Linked DNA regions of Homo sapiens: regions 1 and 2 are each linked to region 3. Evidence: promoter capture Hi-C in 16 types of primary human blood cells and fetal thymus (Javierre and others, 2016). All regions are on one chromosome and are shown on one strand. The core of a region is centred on a gene start or on the middle of the fragment in contact, and the rest is flanking DNA. Distances in the headings are between cores, read along the strand shown.

What was found. Contacts are between HindIII fragments. The CHiCAGO score rates a contact against its expected background, and 5 or more counts as called.
Region 1: a fragment that was not itself captured here is called in contact with the fragment with the promoter of EMC4 in region 3 in 2 of 17 cell types (activated CD4 T cells and neutrophils); the score reaches 6.1 in activated CD4 T cells.
Region 2: a contact is called between a fragment that was not itself captured here and the fragment with the promoter of EMC4 in region 3, in 1 of 17 cell types (neutrophils). The highest score is 5.9, in neutrophils.

The regions. Positions count from the first base shown.
Region 1 is chr15:34,044,648-34,049,266 of GRCh38, reverse strand. CHRM5 (cholinergic receptor muscarinic 5) reads right to left here. Exons shown (of 3, transcript NM_012125.4): 2 at 2,396-2,727. It also overlaps a transcript of AVEN not described here. Among named protein-coding and RNA genes, the nearest start is that of AVEN, 7.8 kb to the right of the region's middle. The HindIII fragment of the contact is 4,552 bases long and covers 1-3,575 here.
Region 2 is chr15:34,075,806-34,080,341 of GRCh38, reverse strand. No RefSeq gene overlaps it. Among named protein-coding and RNA genes, the nearest start is that of EMC7, 24 kb to the left of the region's middle. The HindIII fragment of the contact is 3,492 bases long and covers 1,198-4,536 here.
Region 3 is chr15:34,222,834-34,227,481 of GRCh38, reverse strand. It overlaps EMC4 (ER membrane protein complex subunit 4), which reads right to left and starts at 2,466. Exons shown (of 5, transcript NM_016454.4): 1 at 2,282-2,466; 2 at 1,832-1,946. The coding sequence starts at 2,367. RefSeq lists an enhancer at 2,103-2,152. The HindIII fragment of the contact is 12,421 bases long and covers 1-2,970 here.

The DNA.
Region 1 (4,619 bases), core at 50-2,549, 180 kb after region 3:
TTTAGCTCAGTGAAGTTTGTTATTACCCACTTTCAGAAGCCTAGTTCTGTCAATTCAGCCATCTCAGCTTCAGCCCAGTTCTGTGCCTTTGCTGGAGAGGTGTGCAGTCATTTGGAGGCAGAGACGCACTCTGTCTTTTTGAGTTTTCAGCATTTTTGTGTTGAATCTGTCTCATCTTTGTGGGCTTATCTACCTTTGAGCTTTGAGGTTGCTGACCTTGAAATAGGTTTTTGTGGGGTCTTTTCTGTTGATGTTGTTGTTTTCTGTTTGTTTGTTTTTCTTTTAACAGTCAGACAACTCTTCCACAGGGCTGCTGCAGTTTGCCGTGGGTCCACTCCAGACCCTAGTCACCTCGGTTGTTCTCATACCTGGTGGTATGCTGCAAAACATACCACCAGGTATGCAAAACAGCAAAGGTGGCAGACTGCTCCTTCCTTTGGAGGCTCCATCCCAGGAGGATACTGACCTGTTGCTGGCCCAGACACACCTAGGCCACAGACTCCTTTTGGGAGGTGTCAGTCAGGAGGAATGGGATCAGGGACCCACTTAAAGAAGCAGTCTGGCTGCTTTTTGGTAGAGCAGGTGTGCTGCATTGTGGGGGCACTGTTCCTTGTCCAGACTGTTTGGACTCTCCAAAGCCAGCAGGCTGGAATGGCTGAGTCAACCAAACTGTAGAGATGGCGGCTGCCCCTCCTCCTGGGAGCTCCATCCCAGGGAGAAATCAGAGCTCTGTCTGTATAACCCTGGCTAGAGTGGCTGAAACCCCCACATGGAGGTCCTGCCCAGTGAGGAGGAATGGATCCAGGTCCCACTTAAAGAAGCAGCCTGGCCATGATCTGGCAAAGCAGCTGTGCTCGTTGTGGGGGACCCTTCCTTGTCAGGACCATTTGGACTCTCCAAAGCCAGCAGGCTGGAACAGCTGAGTCAACCAAACCACACAGATGGCGGCTGCCCCTCCCTCTGGGAGCTCCATCCCAGGGAAAGATCAGAGCTCTATCCATATAACCCTGGCTGGAGTGGTTGAAGCTCCCACAGGGAGATCCCACCCAGTGAGGAGGAATGGATCCGGGTCCTGCTTAAAGAAGCAGTCTGGCCGGGTGTGGTGGCTTACGCCTGTAATCCCAGCACTTTGGAAAGCCGAGGCAAGTGGATTGCTTGAGTTCAGGAGTTTCAGACCAGCCTGGGCAACAGGGTGAAACTCCCATATCTACCAAACACACACACACACAAACACACACACACACGAGCTGGACGTGGTGATGTGTGCCTGTAGTCCCAGCTACTCCACTCACTTGGTCCTATTGTTTGACCCCATCCCTTCTCCCGTGCACCCTTTGATTTCTTATTTCTGGGATCTGGTGTGGAGAGCCCCTCATCCTGGGAAACAGGGTGCGGGAGGCTGAGGTGGGAGGATTACTTGAGCTCAGGAGGCAGAGGTTGCAGTAAGCCGAGATTGCGCCATTGCACTCCAGCCTGGGTGACAAAGTGAGACTATCTCCAAAAACAAAACAAAACAAAGACAAAACAAGCAGTCTGGCCACCAACTGACAAAGCAGCTGTGCTTGCGTTGGGAGGGACCTTTCCTTGTCTGGACTGTTTCGATTCTCCAAAGCCGCAAGCTAGAATGGCTGAGTCAACTGAACCACAGAGGTAACAGTCATCCTCCCGCTGGGAGCTCAATTCTCTCTCAGGCAGACTCTGGCTTTTACTGTTGGCTGGCTGGAATTCCAAGTCAGTGGGTCTTATCTTGTGAGGTGCCAGGGAAGTGGGGCCTGCAGAAAGATGCTGCTTGGCTCCCTGGTTTCAGCCCTCTTCCTAGGGGTATGTGCAGATGGACCTCCCGCCTTGCCAGGGATCCCAGCGTTGGAGTATGTAAAACTGCTAGGTCTCCGCCGGGCACGGTGGCTCACGCCTGTAATCCCAGCACTTTGGGAGGCTGACACGGGCGGATCATCAGGTCAGGAGATCCAGACCATTCTGGCTAACACGGTGAAACCCCGTCTCTACTAAAAATACAAAAAGTTAGCAGGGCATGGTGGCGGGCGCCTGTAGTCCCAGCTACTCGGGAGGCTGAGGCAGGAGAATGGCGTGAACCCGGGAGGCGGAGCTTGCAGTGAGCCGAGATCGTGTCACTGCACTCCAGCCTGGGCGACAGAACGAGACTCCGTCTCCAAAAAAAGAAAAAAAAAAAAACCAACAAAAAAACCAAAACAAAAAAGCCCTGCTAGGTCTCTGTTTGTGCCTGAGCGGCTGCTCTGCTGAAACTCCGCACAGCTCTGTGTGTTGGACCTAAGGCTCTGCTGGCATGGGCTCACAAGGAGATCTCCTTTTCCATGGGTTGCAAAGACCTGTGGGAGAAATGTGGTTTCCCCGGTGGGGTCGCACAATCACTCACCGCTTCCCTTGGCTGGAGGTGGGGGTTCCTTTGGCTCTGTGCTGCTCCCAGGTGGGCCGTCACCCCACCCTGCTTTTCTTTGTTTTCTGTGGGTCAAGTTGTTTGCCCAATTAGTCCCAAAGCGAGAACCTGGATATTTCAGTTGAAGGCGCTGTATTCACTCACACCTTTCATTCCTTTGCATGAGAGCTGCGGGCTGCCGCTGCTTCTAATCCGCCATCTTGGCCATATTTCACAATTGCACATTTCTGAAAAGCTCCTGAGTATTCTTGATGCTACTGATCCATGTACCATATTTTAAGTTGCAAGGCTGAGAATGATTTCCTAGGTTCCTAGAAAAGGGGAATGATCGTTCACAAAGGGGCTGTTAAATTGGAATTTTCCAACTGCAATGTGCAGTAACATTTGAATCCCCCTCTGCCTTCCAAAATCACTTGAGTTAAAAAAATTTTTTTCTCCTGTTCGAAATTAATATAATTAGCCTTTAGAGATTTTCTGCCTTCTCTTTTTCCCGTTTTTTTTTTTTTTCCTGCCTCACTTTTTGGGAGAATAACTTTTCCTGATTCCTAGGCTGCTGGACAGATCTTTCCACAAAAAGATTTGGAACATAAGGTAGGTTCCACGGCTGATGGATTGATTTATTTTTTTGGATGATAGTTGAGTATGAAAACTGAGTTTCCAGCCTGAATGTTTTCCACAATAAACTTCTTAAATCATTGATTATGTTTTTGAAAGGGTAACTTATTTTTGAGGAAAGTTGCAGAGGCAAATGAAATATAAGTGGTTATCTGGGAGTGTGGATCCTTTTGAGCTCTTCCCTGATTACTCAAACTTTAACAGTTCCCATTTTTCATCCCACCATCTAGAGTATGTTTATTTTTAGGATACCAGCATTAAGAGAGAGCAGTAATCATCTCAGGTTTATTTTCTACCACTACATAAGACAAAGACTCCCACAGTAATAAAAGCCTCTGGGTTTCCAACCTTGGCCGATTGTTTCTTGTTCTCTGCTGTCAATACATTACAAATGAAGCAAAGCAACATAAAAATCAAAGAAGGTAACCCTGTGTACCAAATGAATTCCTTTTCTTGTCGAGTGGACTTGCCAACTTTTGAGGCTTTTCCTAAGTGAGGTTAGGCCTTCGTTTTCTGAAACACCTTTTTTTTTTTATGAGAAGCTTTATGCCTGAACCTGTCCTTGTTACTCTTCATTGTTTCTATAGCAACTACAGTGGAAAACTTTAATGGCATCTACAACCCAGTGATATTGGGACATCATGATAACCAGCTCATATTGTTATGTAGAATATTGATGAGTGACTCCCTCCTTCCTTTTCAAGGACAAATCAAGACAAAGTAGGCTTAAAGCACATGGGGTACCACTGTGTTAGATATGAGGAAGGACTTGCAGTGAAAGAGCGTGTGAATGAATAAGGGAGGTTCTGGACTTGCATTTTTTTGGTGAATATTTTAAAGTAAGATATATCTAACTCCTTTTGACTGGTAGAATCAAATTGCTGACTGAAGATAAGGTGGTGATTAAGAAATGACCTCTTAATACCTCTGAAGCAATAATATCCAGAGCAGGATTTCAATGTGACATGTTCTTTAGAACATACTTTGTGTTCACTAGTGTGCCAGCTGCTGTGGGGCATATAAAAGAGATATACGATAGTCCTTGAACTGAAAGAGTTCATCTTTATAGCTCTAAGAAAAAGAGAATGTAAGAATAAAGTTGAGTTTTTAGACCAAATTCAGGTGACAGAGAGGTCTGTTACTGAGGTCATTAAATTACTTTATTTTTTATTATTATTACTAATTTTTGAGACAGAGTCTCGCTCTGTCGCCCAGGCTGGAGTGCAGTGGCACGATCTCGGCTCACTGCAAGCTCCGCCTCCCAGGTTCATGCCATTCTCCTGCCTCAGCCTCCTGAGTAGCTGGGACTACAGGCACCCACCACCATGCCCAGCTAATTTTTTGTATTTTTAAGAGACGGGGTTTCACCCTATTAGCTAGGATGGTCTCCATCTCCTGACCTCATGATCCTCCCGCCTCGGCCTCCCAAAGTGCTGGGATTACAGGCATGAGCCACCGCGCCCAGCCAAATTACTGTATTGCTATAGGACAGGAAAATAGGTGAAACTGCTTCACATGAAGGCATAAACTGGACCCATTTAACGCATACACTGTCGACTCCTGCCACAGGCTATGGGGTTGGCTAGGT
Region 2 (4,536 bases), core at 1,694-4,193, 150 kb after region 3:
TCCTGAATGTCCAGGATGATTTCTCCAGGACATCTCTATTGCTCCCAAGTTTCAAACAGTTTTTTGGGAGCCAAAACCTCAGGATTTACCCTAGATCTGGTTAACATTTTGAAAAGATACAGGATTTTACCTAAACTGCCCTGAGTAGAAAACCATCTTGTCATTTTTCCCTTATGCCTTCCCTGACAGGAGGGCAGATACTATCACACAGCATACTTCTCAGTAGTTGGAAGGGTTTGAAGGTCCTGATAAGCAGTGTCCATAAAGATAAGGGAGAGCTTTTCATTTAACTAGTCACTCAGACTTTCAGGAAGTTTTGAGTGTTTTTTGTTTCTTTTTTTTTGAGACAGTCTCACTCTGTTGCCCAGGCTGGAGTACAATGGCGCGATCTCAGCTCACTGCAACCTCCACCTCCCGGGTTCATGCCGTTCTCCTGCCTCAGCCTCCCAAGTAGCTGGGACTACAGGTGCCCGCCACTATGCCTGGCTAATTGTTTGTATTTTTAGTAGAGATGGGGTTTCACTGTGTTAGCTAGGACGGTCTCGATCTCCTGACCTCGTGATCCATCCACTTCAGCCTCCCAAAGTGCTGGGATTACAGGTGTGAGCCACCACACCTGGCTTGTTTCTTTTTTTTTTAAGTGCTCAACTAGAGTATCTTTTGTTTAAAAACTGTTACTGAAAATATTTTTATTAAATATTTTAAACCACTATTTTCATTTTTGCTTATTGCCTTTCGGGTCACATATAGACATACATTTGCATGGTTACAATCATGTATGTACATTTTGTATTTAAACCCAGCAAAAATTCTGCTAAGCACCAATTTCAGGTAACCCAACAGAAGCTAGTGACTGAGTCTTTTAATTCAGCTCAAAGAGTATGTTGAGATGGGACCAGTTGTACTGAGCTCTTCCGCATTTTAGGTGTGATTATTTTCATTATTTAGAGTCTTAAATTTATAAGGCTGGTGAGAATATCCATTTGGTTTAAATGTTTATGTTATTCAGGAGAACTTGAAAGTAGCTTCGGTAAAATTCAAATGGTGTCTATAAATTGTGGATATTGTTTTTATACTCTTGGTAAAAGATGAAGTATTGAAAATTTTAAAATGCCCCCAAAATAGCTCCAAATATTAGCTTATCTCTTTAGTTTATGGTAAAACGATCTTATTATGAGCACTAGGGGAACTGAAGCTTTCCACAGTGGCTTCTGTCTGGTAGGACTGAGCCAGCCAGGCAAGCAACCCTGAGAAGAGGAAGGAGTAAATTAAGGTCAAACATTAAACTGGAGGAATGAGTGGAACTGTAAAAACTAGCTATACGCAGCATTTCCAACAGAAAACTGTTGACAAGGCGTTTAATTCCACTGAAATTTAATAATCTATTGATTCATATTTGTACCTCTTAGATAATTTTGAAATCAAATTTTTCATATATATGAATGTAAATTTATTTCATTCCCTTTTAAAAATATTTAAAAATAATTTATAAAGATTGACTATATTCAGAGTATAAAATGTGATTATTTGATATACATTGTATTATGACTACCACAATCAAATTAATTAATACATCCACCATCACTCATGATGTAGTTAAGATCCCTGAAACTTGTTCATCTTATAATTGAGTTTGTACCCTTTGGCCAGTATCTTCCCATTTCTCCTACCCCTCAACCCACCATTTCATTCTCTGCTTCCATGAGTTTGGCTTTTTTAGATTCCACACATAAGTGAGATAAGGCATATAAGTTCTCGATGAGTTTATAATTATTAATATTCTTATTTTTCAGATGAGGAAACAGGTTAAACAATTTCCCAAACTCATCAGTGGGTAAGTGGTCTTAATCTAGAGAAAACTGTTAACTGCTTTCTGTAGTACTGCTCTCACATGCTAAACTGAAAAACATTAATATACCCATAGTCAACACATGGTATACATCTCTTCCAACCTGTCCACCCTCCTCCTACCTCTATTGGCATGATCTAGGGACTTGCCTCTCTCCTTCCAAACTCTCCTTAGAGAGAAAGCAGTGGTGTAGTCAAGAGAAATTGACTTCCAAGAGAAAGTAGTTGTAGTCCTAGTTTCTGGTAACTGGAGCTTTAGACACTAATCTTAAAGATGTTTCTAAAAGGCAAATCTGATGGGATCACTCATCAATTAAACCCTGTGTTGACTCTCATGGACTTCAAGACAAACATCTTTGGCCCCTGAACACAGTTCCTTCAGACTCACTTCTTGCCACTTCCCTATGTATCTCAAATTATTCACAATTCCCCTCTGAAAACTCCATGCTCTCTCACCTCTGAGCCTTTTTGAGTATCTCTTCATCTCAGCTCTCCACCCCATGCCTATTTTTTTCCCTTATCAACCTGTAACATCTTTTTTAGGACTTTCTACAGAAATCTTCCAGATGCTCATGAGGATCAGATAAGAGCCTCCTTGTCCCCCTTCATGCCTGGCTTATCCTATTATATATATAGCACTTCATTTTCTGAGATTACTTGTCTACTTCTCTGACTTCCCTACCTGGACCCTAAGCTCCTTGGACTGTAAAGCACTAGTAGTACAACAGTCCTGTCCTCAAGGAAGGGTAGGAAGAATATTAATCTCTCCTCTAAAATAGTTCTGGGATGGCTGCCATACATACAGCTCTATCATATTGTTGGGATCCTAACTCAAATCGTTAGACAAGGATAGAGATCAGAGACCCATGGTGAATTAAGTTTGTACTTTTCAGGGAATCATAAAGATACTAAGAATACAGGAAAAAACAAAAACCAGGAACCTTGCCTTGTAACCATCTCCTATCGCAGGTAAGCACATACTTACTTAGTACAGAATACATTGTGAAGTACTGTTGCCACGTATGTGCCAAGGGCTACTAGGTGAGGGGATATGATCATGAGCACAATAAGCATGAACTCTGGCTTCAGAGATGAGCATTTAGAGGGAGACACAGACATTGAATCAACCAAACACACACAGGTATCTAATGAAAACTTTGGTAGATGCTACCAAGAAAAAGTCATTTATAAGCTCATAAATGGGGAACCCGAATGGGTGGGTAGAGGGCAAATGTAAGAGCACTTCCATTAAAAAGTGACTCATAGGTAAGACTGAAAGACTAGGAATTAACCAGGCTGAGACTGAGAAGAGCGGGATAAGAATGAGGTGCTTCCTAGTCTGAGCTGAAGGAGGGGTGGGCCTGGAGCTTGGCTCTTGAAGGAACTGAAAGAACAGTACAGCTGGAGAGAAGAGAGGCGAAAAAGGTAGGCAGACATCGCCTGGTTGCATTGCAGGCCTGAACTCGCCTTATCTTCTGGAGGACAATACCCTGATTCTCTCTGGAAAAATGATAAGGGAAAGCCCTGTGTATGGTGTTCAGTGTGCTTGAGACAATGAGGTAGAACTGATCACAGATTGGGAGCCAGGCCAGCTTGGGTTTGAATCTTGTGAGTAACATGGTGGTGACTGTGGCTAATGACCATTAATAATAAGTAAAGTGGTGAAGTCATAAGGCTCCTTCCAATGACTTCTATCACTTCCAATCACTTCTAGTTGAAGCCTAGAAGTAATTATTCACTTTACTAAAGGATTCACTAGAAGCGTCCTTCACATAGTTCCCCCTAATGCACCTAAAATAGATGTGATTGCCACAGGCAAATCACACAATTCTGGAGGGACTCCCTCTTATGGAGACCTGAAGCTGGCTGTGACTGGCTGTGATCACCTGGCCATGATGTACTGATAACAGGTCTCTGAGCAAACTGTGGTATATGAAAATCATTGCCAAGAAAGCCTAGAATCTTTAGTAGAAATCTCAGAGTCCCAGAAACTTTGAGAGAATATGTTAGTTGGAGGAAAAATAAGCATTGTCTTCCCTCCTGCCTTGTTCTCTGCCTACCTCTGGCCCAACCTCAAATCTTTAAATGATGTAGCCCAGCAGAGGCCAGTGGCATAAAGACGGTTTCTCTCCCTTCATCCTCTTTGGAGCTGGTGGGAATTGGTTGGAAGGAAGGTTTCCGGTCTTTTTCAAAGCCTCTCAGAGGTCTCCTCATTCCTGGTAGGCCCTCAGCACTCCTACTGTGAACCAGCTGCTCCCACCTTGAGACTCTGTACTCACTGCTTTAAGTTGTGCTCTAATGTGTGTGATTGTATGCATTTGATTTTGAAAATTTGGAGAATTCTATGGAAAACTCTAATTTCTTTGTATTTCTACCTGATCTCTGCTCCTCCCTTGAGAAGAAGTTGGATTATGGAATAAGAAATTTAGGGTATATCTAGACAGGGCAAGTCTTCTTTCTGAAAAACACAGTACCTTGGCATGTAGTCCAGGAACTGGGAACCAAACTGAAAAAAAAAAAAAAAGATCAGAGGCCTGTGCTTGTGAGATCCTGTGAGTGGAATGTTGGATGTTATCCGCATTCATCTTGTCATTCCTCAGTCATCCTTCCTCTTCAAGCCTATATGTTTAGGCTTCAGTGCTAATTTTCCTTCTGTGCCAAAGAGCAGGGAATAAGAGGCCTGGAGAA
Region 3 (4,648 bases), core at 1,217-3,716:
TCCCTATAGGTTTTCCAGATGTCATTTTTTTCTCCTGATTTTGGAAAAAAGATCTCCCTGCTTTTGTCCTGGTACTTATGTATCTATCAATGTCCTATCTACAACTGAAGAAATAGATAAATCCACATAATGGGAGATTAGCACACCTCAGTCAATAACTAATAGAACCATCGAACTAATTTAGTTCCAGAAATAATAGAATTAGCAGGCAAATCAAGACATAGAAGATTTGAATGACATTAACAAACTTAACCCAACTGACATGTAACACTGCACTCAACAATTGCAGAATTCACATTCTTTTCAAACAAGATATTCACAAAAACTGACCACTCGCTGAGCCATGAAGAAAATGTCAATCTCAAAGAATGCAAATTGTACAAAACATATTCTTTGACTACAATGATATTAAACTAGAAATAATTTTATAGTAACTAGAAAATCTCTTATGTTTGGGAATTAACAATGATACATGAAGAAATTATAATGGAAAATAGATTTATATGATAGCAAAAGTACCACATTTTAAAACTCGTGGGACACAGCTAGAGTTCTGAGAAATTTATAACCTTAAATACATACTACCAGGTTGCTGCAAAAGTAACTGCGGTTGTTGCCATTAAAAGTAATGGCAATGTGGCCGGGCGCGGTGCCTCACACCTGTAATCCCAGCACTTTGGGAGGCCGAGCTTGGTGGATCACCTGAGGTCAGGAGTTTCAGACCAGCCTGGCCAACGTGGTGAAACCCCGTCTCTACTAAAAATACAAAAAAATTAGCTGGACGTGGTGGTGGGTGCCTATAATCCCAGCTACTCGGGAGGCTGAGGCAGGAGAATTGCTTGACCCTGGGAGGCAGAGGTTGCAGTGAGCCAAGGTCGTGCTATTGCATTCCAGCCTCGGCGACAACAGCAAGACTGTCTCAAAAGAAAAGAAAAAAAGTAATGGCAGTCTAAAAATAAACTAAGCATCCATTTCAAGAAACTAGAAAAAAACCCAAGTATTTTTGAAAAGATTAATAAAATCAATACTGGTGATGGGTACAGTGACCTGTAAAAATAAATGAAAATAATTTTTAAAAAATCAATACTGGTGAGCCTGATGAAGAAAGGAGAGGAGACAAAATATTCAATATCAGGAATGAAAAAATGAACATCACAGATCTTGCATATATGGAAGTGATCATATTATGAACAACTTTATATCAATACATTTGAAATTTTAGGAAATGGATAAGTTTCTAGAAAAAATGTAACAAAATGACAGGAGAAATTAGAAATATAAATAGCCCCGGGCCGAGCGCGGTGGCTCATGCCTGCAATCCCAGCACTTTGGAAGGCCAAGGCGGATGGATCACCTGAGGTCAGGAGTTCAAGACCAGCCTGGCAAACATGGTGATACCCTGTCTGTACTAAAAATACAAAAATTAGCCGGGCTACTGCAGAAATCTAGATGAAGGATGGTGGCTTGGATTAGGATGAGAGGTGAACACAGGAAAAAGTAGTAGGTAAAGCCAACAGAGTATCCTGACAGTTGGATATGTGGTGTAAGGGAACCAGAGTAGAAAAAGGATCACTTCAACTGGAAGATGTTGCCACCAAAAGATAGTTTTCAACCTACTTTCTTATACCTTATGTTCCAAACATCTTCTATTTTTCAAATTATTAAGCACTTTTGTAGCTGATATATAAAATACCGAAATACCAGCCTCAAGCAGTTTAGTTTCCAAATCTTCAGGATAAGAGCTATCTACGTTAACTCCACCTAGGAGAAGAGGATGAGTGTGTAACTCAGGACTGGCCCATGGGCTACGGTAACATCTATACCTCTGTACCTTCTCCACCAGGATCCGGTCTGTCTCTTGCACGCTGGTATCAGGCACTTGCTTGTCCAAGTAACCGACTGGGTAGAGCGAGTCTCCCTGGCCACTGCCCCGGTCACTTCGACCCCTAAAAAACCAAACCAAGAAACTAAAGCTGCAACCTCCGATACTTCTTATCCCACATTTCCTGATCTACCAATCATAGGAATAAAGATCTTCAGATGCACCTACTCAGATTAGACCAAGCCCCCTCGTATGTTCCTCAGTCCTTTGACTTATCAGGAGGACTGATGTAAGCATTGTTTGAGCAGAGAAACTTCCACGGCAGAAAAGCCGCTACCTCCCCAGGTGATGTCTGTGTGCCACCCATCTTTTTCAGAGTTATGCCTGAGGGCTCAGGTCTCATTACTCTGGTGCAGTTCTGGGATGAACAGTGATGTACAGCTTGCCCAGGTGCCTCACCTGCTGCCTCCTCCAGGCCCGCTTAGCTCAATGGCCCACTTGAAGCGCCGGCCTCGGTTAGCCACCAGGCCCCCCTGGGCCGTCATGGCAACAGCTGCGTCCTATAGCCTCGATGCTTCTCAGTCCAAAGCGTACTCCACAACAGGCCCACCAGCGTTCTCCGCTTTGTCTCACTCTGCAAATGCACTTCCGGCGCGTGAATACGACGTCATTTCCGCCCTGGAAATTGGTGGTGCTGTGGGTTGAGGAGTCCGGGTTTGGATTTAGAAAAGCAGGGAGGAAAAAAAACCAGGCAAGACTTAGTGCTTCCTAAAGCCACTTCCGCGCGCTCCCCTTTTGAATGTCCTTGTTATGTGTTCCCTGACCTCTGAGGTGCACTTTATGGGGCTGAAGGAAAGCCCATACTGACTCAGCGTTAAGAATTGGTGGGCGGATCACCTGAAGTCAGGAGTTCGAGACCAGCCTGGCTAACATGGTGAAACCCCGTCTCTACTAAAAATACAAAATATTAGCCGGGCTTAGTGGCGGGCGCCTGTAATCCCAGCTACTTAGGAGGCTGAGGCAGGAGAATCGCTTGGATCCGGGAGCCGGAGGTTGCAGTGAACTGAGACCGAGCGATTGCACGCCAGCCTGGGCAGCAAGAGCGAAACTCTGTCTCAAAAAAAAAAAAAAGGAAGCCAAGAAAAGCTTCTTAACCTCCTACGCGCTCCCTGGAACAAAAGATTCAAATCCTGGGTTTAAATCCTAGCTTGACCTTGAGCGAGTTACTTAGTAGTTTCTGAGTATTGAATGTCCACTGTGTCATGTGTTTATTTCATTTCACTTGCACAGTAACCTTGCGAGGTAAACAGTTCTAACCACATTCTGCACAAAGGCAAGGCAGCATTGTGGGCATGGAAGGGGACATGGGCTCGGTATTCAGTTAGCCTGCGTTTGTTGTTGTTTGTTTTGGGTTTGTTTTTTGAGACAGGGTTTCACTCCGTTGCCGAGGCTGTAGTGCAGTGGCGCTATCACGGCTCACTGCAGCCTCGACTTCCCCGGCTCAAGCGATCTTCCCACCTGAGCGTTCCTTCCAACCTGAGCGTTCCGAGGAGCTAGGACCACAGGGCGCGCCACCACGCCCCAGTCTTGTTTTGTTTTGTTTTGTTTTGTTTTGACAGGGTTTCGCTATGTTGCTCAGGCTGCTCTCAAACTCTTGGGTTCAAGTGATTCTCCTGCCTTGGCCTCCCAAAATGTTGAGATTACAAAGGCATGGGCCACTGCACCCAGCAGATGGCCTCCTTTTGAATCCTGGTTTCACCACTTAATAATTGTATGACCTTGGGCAAGTTGAATTTGTTTCAGCCTCTTCATGTAAAAGTTGGATAATCTACCTACTTTCAAGGCTTGTGAGATTAGTGCCCACCACATATCTGGTGTTTGGTTTGTTTGTGTTTTTGTTCGAGACGGAGTTTTGCTTTTGTTGCCCAGGCTGGAGTGCAATGGCACTATCTCGGCTCACTGCAACCTCCGTCTCCCGGGTTCAAGCAATTCTCCTGCCTCAGCCTCCCGAGTACCAGGGATTACAGGCGCACGCCACCACGTCCAGCTAATTTTGTATTTTTAGTAGAGATGGGATTTCACCGTGTTGGTCAGGCTGGTTTCGAACTCCCGACCTCAGGTGATCTGCCTGCCTCGGCCTCCCAAAGTGCTAGGTTATGTGGTGTTTTTAATGATGTATCACATCATTACCAAATAACACCATTGATGTGTTTTTAATGACGTGTCATTAAATAATGTATGTCATTCTTTAAAGTGATTGGGTTTTGTATGGTATACCTTTTTCATAATATAGCCTATTATTGGACATTTAAATTGTTTCCTGTTTTCCTTCCTTTTATAACCAGTGTTGCTGTGAACATATCTGTATGTCTTTTCTTATTTCCTAAAGTTATAGTCCTAGAAGTGAAATTGGAGTTGCTGGATCAAAGAGTATGCACATTTTTAAAGAATTTTCATTTTAAATGCCCACAGGAGCCAGGCGTGGTGGCTCACACCTGTCATCCCAGAACTTTGGGAGGCTGAGGCAGGAGGATTGCTTTAGCTCAGAAGTTCAAGACCAGCCTAGGCAACATAGTGAGACCTTGCCTCTGCAAACAACAACAAAAAAAATTAAAATGTCCACTAGGAAAAATGGCACCATTTACATTTCACAGTCTATAATTTTTTTAATAGTTTGAAATGGTACTGTATTATTTTTTAATTTGTATTTCTTTGACTCCAAGTTATTCGATATGGCTGGAGTTAGGGGGAAGGAGATGCTGTGGGAGGTAAGGTTGAAAAAGGCTTCCTTGGCCAACAAAAAAGTTGGGACTCTTGAAGATGATG